Linked DNA regions of Homo sapiens: all the other regions are linked to region 1. Evidence: promoter capture Hi-C in 16 types of primary human blood cells and fetal thymus (Javierre and others, 2016). All regions are on one chromosome and are shown on one strand. Each heading gives the region's core, a stretch centred on a gene start or on the middle of the fragment in contact. The rest is flanking DNA. Distances are from core to core; before and after follow the strand shown. Region 1 holds the start of IRF4 (interferon regulatory factor 4). Region 2 has its middle 7.0 kb from the start of DUSP22. Region 3 has its middle 73 kb from the start of IRF4.

What was found. Contacts are between HindIII fragments. The CHiCAGO score rates a contact against its expected background, and 5 or more counts as called.
Region 2: a contact is called between a fragment that was not itself captured here and the fragment with the promoter of IRF4 in region 1, in 4 of 17 cell types (total B cells, naive B cells, activated CD4 T cells and 1 more). The highest score is 10.6, in total B cells.
Region 3: a contact is called between a fragment that was not itself captured here and the fragment with the promoter of IRF4 in region 1, in 1 of 17 cell types (activated CD4 T cells). The highest score is 5.7, in activated CD4 T cells.

What each region holds. Positions count from the first base shown.
Region 1 is chr6:390,412-393,064 of GRCh38, forward strand. IRF4 (interferon regulatory factor 4) reads left to right here and starts at 1,341. Exons shown (of 9, transcript NM_002460.4): 1 at 1,341-1,398. RefSeq lists silencers at 1,028-1,417, 1,658-1,727, 2,008-2,057, 2,228-2,277, 2,388-2,497. The HindIII fragment of the contact is 5,232 bases long and covers 725-2,653 here.
Region 2 is chr6:284,208-286,860 of GRCh38, forward strand. No RefSeq gene overlaps it. Among named protein-coding and RNA genes, the nearest start is that of DUSP22, 7.0 kb to the right of the region's middle. The HindIII fragment of the contact is 524 bases long and covers 1,104-1,627 here.
Region 3 is chr6:462,940-465,592 of GRCh38, forward strand. No RefSeq gene overlaps it. Among named protein-coding and RNA genes, the nearest start is that of IRF4, 73 kb to the left of the region's middle. The HindIII fragment of the contact is 3,475 bases long and covers 1-2,653 here.

The DNA.
Region 1 (2,653 bases), core at 91-2,590:
TACGGTGGTGGTGGTCTAAAATCATATAGAAACCAGAGATCTGATGGTTTACCTGAAAATGCGAAGTAAATGCACATACTCAGCATCTCAGACGATCGAAAGCTCAACGGGTGAAAGCTCAGGGGGTTAATTTTGCGATTAAGGACATCTTGGAAAAGTATGTAAAATCCCTGGTCCACTTAAGTATTATTCCTATTTTGGGCTTTTATTTATTTATTTTGAGATGGAGTCTTGCTCTGTCGCCCACCTCGGCTCACTGCAACTTCAGCCTCCCGGGTTCAAGCGATTCTCGTGGCTCGTCCTCTCAAGTAGCTGGGGCCACGCCCGGCTAATTTTTGTATTTTTAGTAGAGATGGGGTTTCACCGTGTTGGCCAGGCTGGTCTCGAACTCCTGACCTCAGGCGATCCACCGCCTCGGCCTCCCAAAGTGCTGGGATTACAGGCTTGAGCCACAGCGCCTGGCCTATTTTGGGCTTTTATACCCCACTGGTAAACTGCTTTCCTCCAGGTTGAGGTTAAAACGACATCATTTTAAGGTGAACTGAAGTCTGGAAGTGATTAAGCACTTGGATCCTTAGGGAGCCTCTCCCCGCCCCCATCTCTTTCATGCTAAGATAATTAAAACTTCGGGGCCGGGGCATTGTCTGAGTCACTTCAATTCACCAGCCTAATAGATGCAAAAGGATGTAAGCATGTCAGACACGCAGAGACAGTATTTGAATCAAGCTTAATAGCTCAAGGGAGCTGGGCCATTTCCTATTTTCTTTTTAGTGAGTGCGATGTTCTCTAAACACCGCGGAGAGGCAGGGTTCCCGGTGATGGCCTTGCCGAGGGTGCTCCCGCAACCTCCACCTCCAGTTCTCTTTGGACCATTCCTCCGTCTTCCGTTACACGCTCTGCAAAGCGAAGTCCCCTTCGCACCAGATTCCCGCTACTACACGCCCCCCATTTCCCGCCCTGGCCACATCGCTGCAGTTTAGTGATTGACTGGCCTCCTGAGGTCCTGGCGCAAAGGCGAGATTCGCATTTCGCACCTCGCCCTTCGCGGGAAACGGCCCCAGTGACAGTCCCCGAAGCGGCGCGCGCCCGGCTGGAGGTGCGCTCTCCGGGCGCGGCGCGCGGAGGGTCGCCAAGGGCGCGGGAACCCCACCCCGGCCGCGGCAGCCCCCAGCCTTCACGCCGGCCCTGAGGCTCGCCCGCCCGGCCGGCCCCGGCTCTCGGCTTGCAAAGTCCCTCTCCCCAGTCCAACCCCCGGCCCCCACAGGCCTCGGCGCCCCGCCCCGCCCCAGGCCCCGCCCCAGAGAGTTCTATAAAGTTCCTCTTTCCCACCTCGCACTCTCAGTTTCACCGCTCGATCTTGGGACCCACCGCTGCCCTCAGCTCCGAGTCCAGGGCGAGGTAAGGGCTGGAGTCGGGCAGGAGGAGGGGTGTGAGGCTGATACCAGAGAGGACCCGGAGCGCGAACCAGAGGTTCGACCTCCAGGGCAGCGCAGGGTACCCCGGCTTCGGAGCGGGAAGGGAGCGCGCCCCGTCCTGGAGCTCCGACTCCCACCCCATCTGCGCTGAGCCGGAGGCGCTGGTTTGGGCTCCAAGGCCCGCCTCCTTGGCTCTGCCCGAGCCTCCCCGCCTGCCCTCCGCGCTCCTGCGACGGGGTCGCCACAAGCTGGACGGGATGAGCTAACCGGACTGTCGGGGCCCCAGGAGTGGCTGAGGCGGGGCCGTCCAAGGCACCCACACAAGACGGCACAACTGCCTGCGAGAAACAGGCCCGGCCCTGTGGACCCCAATCCGAGGCTCCTTCCCCTGCTCTTCGTTCCTAAGGGGCCCAAGCTCACGGCGGCCTCCGGCGCGGTGCTCACCCGCTGGCGCAGGAGGAGGAGGAGCTCCACATTTGGGTCGCTCCGAGCCTTGCGTGCGGTGGCCTAGCCGGCCTGGCGCGGTCCCTGCCTCCCAGGCTCCGCAGCTGTCGTCGCCCTCTCCCGCGCCCTCCCCGCCTCCGCTCTCCCGGGCCTGCTCCGGGGTCCGGCGGACGCTCTGCGCGCGGAATCCCCCGTACTGGGGCTGCAGCCCCCGCGTCTGCGCCACTTGTCGTTTGCAGAGCCCACTTAGTGCGCGCTAGCTGGGCAGGGATAGGGGTCCTATTCGGGGCGAAGGGTCTGGATGCGAGCAGAGAAAGCGGAGGGTGGAGGAACCCGGGGCTGCGCCCCTGGAACGCCCGGCCGCAGGCGAGGTCCTCCGCGCGTGGAGGCCGCCAGGGGAGTGGAAACTGACAGAGTCGCGGGGAAGGGGCGAGAAGCGGGTTGGGAGTGAGCGAAGGCAAGCGAGAGCTGCGAGTGAGTGCGGAAGGAGGGCCAGGAGGGGTGGCGGCTGGGTGGGGAGAGAGGGTGCAAGACGAGCGGCGCGTGTCGGGAGCCTTTGGGCTGCGGGTGCGTTACAGGAGAGCAGGCGGGTAGGAGCCTTCGCGGGGGCCGAGCTCGGAAGGCGGACGGCTGTGCCCGCCCAGGGGATGCGCCCGGGCCGGCCGCGAAGGTGCCTTCTTCCGGGGGCCCGGACGACCCTGACACGGCACGCGCGCGCTTCGCAGCCTCAAAGACTCCGGGGCCTCGTGGTCACTGGCGCAGGGGATCGGGGCGGGGTGCCCGGAGTGCGGTGC
Region 2 (2,653 bases), core at 116-2,615, 110 kb before region 1:
TTGTGAAACCCTGTTACCTGGAGAGCTACCTGGGCTGAGGGACAGTATGGAGGAGGAGACTTAAGAGGGGAAATTAAAAGTGATTAATTACCAACTCATTGATGCACTCAGTCTCTCCATTTCATGAAAATCTAACAACTTTTAGGAGGTTGTCCATCTCCTTTTAAATAAATACTGTTTGAAGCATTGGAATTGCCTCAATTTAATGTTACAAGAAAAAGTTATTAGACTCTCATAATTGTAAGATGTTTTCCAGGGAAAAGATTCAAATAGAACCTGATACCTTATTGACTTGTTTGAGGAAAAGATCAAAATGTGTTTTTCTCCATGAAGAAAGATCAAAATGTGTTTTTCTCCATGAAGAAATATTGACATCGACGTTTCCTCAGCCATTATTTCCCTTCCAGAAAGCATCAATTGCCTGATCCAAGCCTTGAGCAGAAATTCGTTCCTGCCATGTGTTCCAAGCAGCTGAGTGTGCCTGGCCCTGCCCAGCAATGGGAGGCAGCTGCTCTCCTTCAACATCTCACACAGGGAATTATTTGTACCTAAAGAGGATGGTGTTTAAATGATAATTGTCTTTTTCTCATTAAAGCTAAAGTATATTTCACCAAAATATACCACAGTTGAGGGTAACCAACTGCCCCACATTGCTCGTGACTAAAGGGGTTCCTGGGACACAGAACTTTCAGTGTCAAAATCAGGAAAATCCTGGGCAAACCGTAGCACAGAGGCTTTTATACCAAATAGAAGATTGTGCCCCCTTTTAATGTGGTGACTAAACATTTTAGAAATAAAAAATTCTACCAAATTAAATAGAAACTAACCGATACAACTAAAACCATATATTTAAGAAAACAGAAAAAGAAGGCCAAGGGATTATTATTGTTAAGTCTGTGAAAGGGTTGCACTTAATCCACAACTAGAGGAAAGCATGTTCTGTTTCAAAGGAGCTGTTCTGCGAGCACTCGATTAGATGTCTTAACTTCCGCAGCCCTGTGATCCTCAGATATGTAACGTTACCAATTAGAACCAACACTTACACTGCCTCTGAAGTTCTAGAGTTGCTATTACTAAAAACACATACTTTTAGACCAAAAAGAAGCTTCATACCATGGCTTGAGTAAAACACCAACAATGCCGAGAGCTTCCTGTCCCTTTGGCTTGGTGGTTATCACTGCAACAAAAATAGTGAAATTTTGAAAGCAAAAGTTTATTTTAAATTGTACATATTTTTAAAAGCACTACAGTAAGAAAATATGTCCACATATCTCTCTGTCTTATATATCAGTTATCTCTCTGCCCATCCACTGCACCTACCCACCTGTTAAGCTGCCCTGTAAACCTCAACAAGCAGGAGGTGAACTGCCATTTAAAAGTTACAACATTTTCTGTCTGTAGAGATAAAGATCTCATCTCACCTTTAAGACAGACTGTGGCTTTGCTTGGGAAAAGTTACCATCATGGACACTTTAATTACATCAGAGGTAAGATAGGTACTGCTTTGTATTTTGGGGAGGGAGGGCAGATAAACTGTTGTCATTTAAGCCAGATATAAATGTTTTTACATTGACACATTGTTCTAGTCTGTTCAGTAATGCAAACTGTACATTGATGAAACAGGGCAAGCTTAGCCCCAGACTTTTCTGCCCACCTATTTTTTTGCAAGGGGTGTGTATGAGAGATGAGAAAGAAATCTATCCCAACCTTGTGTGATCATGCTGCAATTGCTTCAGCCTCTTCCCAGCAGTTGTCCTCATGTTAGTTGTTGTTTGCGGGGTCTGGAGTTGAGGCCCCATGTAGAAAGGGCACACAGGTGTGCAGAGAAGGTGAAAAGCACAGGTCAGACCAGGCACGGTGGCTCACACCTGTAATCTCAGCACTTTGGGAGGCCGAGGTGGGTGGATTGCCTGAGCTCAGGAGTTCAAGACCAGCCTAGGCAACATGGTGAAACCCTGTCTCTACTAAAAATATAAAAAATTAGCAGGGAGTGTTGGCATGCCCTTGTAATCCCAGCTACTGGGGAGACTGAGGCACAAGAATCGCTTGAACCCAGGAGGCAGAGGTTGCAGTGAGCCAAGATCGCACCACTTCATTCCAGCCTTGGGGACAGAGTGAGACTCTGTCTTAAAAAAAAAAAAAAGTACAGATCAACCTTCACTTGAAGGTCAATGGTCGACGGTATTCTCATGAGTAAACATGATATCCTGGTACCAGGTTGTTGCTTCAGATGAGATTGTCTCATGTGGGCAAGGACAGCTCCTCACCTGCAGACCAAGTGGTGTTTGGTTAAAAAAATAAATAAATAAAAATAAAAAGCAAGCTCTCTGTTGCAAAGAATAGAGAAAATGATCCTGGGTCCATCATCTAGCCTGAGGAACCCTTGATACATGATGATTTTTTCAGAATTCACAGGGTTTTCTTGATGAATAACTAATCAAAAGAATGATAAATATTAACACATGTGAAACCAACGGAGAGTTTATAATGACAGTGTTATATCATGTCATACGAAATGGACTTCCCCTCTCATGGTAAGTGAAATTTCTCATGGGACATTCCATTCTCTCAGGAAAACCCCTGCTCCCTGCAGCCCCCTACCCAGACATTTTTCAGTGTCTTCAGATCCAGTTCAATTTCAGTTTTGCATGAA
Region 3 (2,653 bases), core at 44-2,543, 72 kb after region 1:
GAGTGAAAGCTAAAGCAGGCAAGGTGGTCGGGAAGCACATCCTGCAGGGCTGTCTGCTGTATCCCGTATGCAGTAAGAGCATTGGAAAGTCTTGGTGGAGGAGTAGCATAGGGTATGGTATCCAGTATCCAGATATAGAAATACTTACCACACTGTGCTGCGAGGTTGCATTTGGGTCGGAAAAGGGTGGTGGGAGGCAGGGAGGCCAGCTGGTACGTTTTCCTGGTGGCAGATGGCCAGGGCCTGCATTAGCCAGGGCAGTGATGATGAAGTAGTTGCCCATTGGACAGATTCCTCCAGGGTGAAGTTGATGATGGGTGGTGGTTGGCCAGGTGGGAGGCGTGAGGGAGAAGAACACACGGGAACGGCTGGGTTTGTGGATTATGTGCTGGGTGGACAGCAGTGTATCCCCTGACACAGACAGCTCAGGGGAGCCCTGAGTGAGGGGCAGGGAGGTGAAATCCGCTTTGAGCCCAACAACTTTGAGATCCATAAATTACACAGGTGGTGCTTAGCAGGCAGTTGGGCAGATGAATTTCGAGTCTGAGAGAAGAAGGGGTCAAGGGTGTCTTAGTGGCTAATAATTTGAGTGGGTTGGACCCCACCCCACCATACAGGCACAGCGAGTGGGGAGCGTAAGCAGAGTGATTTCTGGGGGAAAGCCTGGTGATTGTTGGAATTTAGGGGCTGTGTGGAAGAAGAGGAGCCTAAGAAGGAGACGGAAAGATGAGGAGGAAGGGCTCAGAGGGAAACAGGAAGGTGTGGTTTCACTGAAGCCACGGGGCCAGAGGAATCTCAGGAAGCAGGAAAGCACGGACTTCACTTCACATTCAAGATGTCAATAGCCTTGCTTGTCAGACTTCTTACTAAAATGCTACCCCTTAAGTAAAGTCTCACCGCACCAGCAGCAAAGGCCTGCAGAGGGAACATAATGCCGGACGCAGGAGGACGCAGTGATGGCCCGGAGGGAGGAGTATGCCGGAGAGATACCAGCTCAGGCTTCCACTTTGTTTTCCAGGCAGAGAAGCGCTGCCACCCTCCCTGGCACCTGTCTCCAGTCCTAGCGCCCAGGCAGGCAGACAGATTTCCCTCCTTCATGGGGGAGTCTGACACCTGCAACCACGTCGCAGCTCTTCCTCCGTCCTTTTCTGCACTTAGGAAAAGGGTATACTCCTAGGAAACAACCATGCAGAAAGGGGATGTGTGGGGGCTGACAGCTGGCAGTGGGGCTTTAACTTCTAGCAATTTTTTCTAAGAAAACAATGAGAGTGAATAGATATGAAGTACTAAGGAGTTCATTCATCACAAGATTGTTCTCCAACAAGGAAAATGGGCAACAATCAACATTCCCAAAGGTAGGCAAGTCCACGCCCTGCAACCCAATGCAGCCACTAAAATGAATGTCTTCATATTTTTAATAAGGCAAGATGATCATATTTTAAAGGTGGTTGCTACATGTTATGTATTATTAATTCGTTAACATCCATTTAATATGTAAGCACAGAAGAGTCCGGAAGGCTAACAGTAAAATGTTAATAGTGGTTGTCTCTAGGTAGTAGGACCATAAATTTTTTTTTTTTTGGCTTACCTTTATTTCAGCATTTTCTTCAACATTTACCAAAACGACTTGGGTTATGAAAAATTATTTGAAGGACTGATCAAAAGGTCCAAAAGCCTCATGAGATAAGATCTGAAACGTGGGTATGACCTGGCAATTTGGAAGCCACTGGTCATCTTAGTGAGGAGACTTTCCTTAGTGAGCCAGAAGGTGGAATACGGGGGATTCCGAAGCCAGTGGTAGGTGGTGACTGAGTGTGGGAGGTGTCTAATCTTTTTTATTTTTATTTTATTTTTTATTTTGTTATTTTTGAGATGGAGTTTTGCTCTTGTTGCCCAGTCTAGAGTGCAGTGGTGCGACCTCAGCTCACTGCAACCTCTGCCTCCCGGGTTCAAGTGATTCTCCTGCCTCAGCCTCCGTAGTAGCTGGGATTACAGGTGTGCACCACCATGCCCAGCTAATTTTTTATATTTTTAGTAGAGACAGGGTTTCACCATGTTGGCCAAGGCTGGTCATGAACTCCTGACCTCAGGAAATCCACCTGCCTTAGCCTCCCAAAGTGCTGGGATTACAGGCATGAGCCACCGCACCTCGCCTCTAATCCTTTTTAAAACAAACTGAGCAGAGAGTGGGCTAAACTCATCAGCGGCTGGGGTGGTCAAGCTGCCCCAATGCTTGTGCACCCCTAAAGCTGGGGTCGGAGGTTGGGAGGTGTCTGAGAATAAAGAAGATGAAGATTCAGCTGTGGCCTGAAGACAGAGGTGAAGGCTGCCATGGACACTGTGGGGGGGGGGGGGGTGGCGGGGCAGGAAGCAGGCAGGGACAGGGTTGGCCTGGACTTAAACATCCAGCTGGAAGCTGATGGGATCCAGGAATCCCAGGCAACATCTCACCAGGAATCCATCCGATGGTACCCATAAACTCGGAGAATTCAGCAATGGTTTAAAAAGGTGGCTGTTTGCAGAGGTGAGAGAAGGTCCTGTGGAAACACAGGACACAGCATGGGGGGAGCTGCAGGCTGCAGAGGTCCTCCCACCCGAGGGCCTGGAGGAGGAAAATCAAGGGCAGACTCCCCTCCAGTGCAGAGGGTGACTG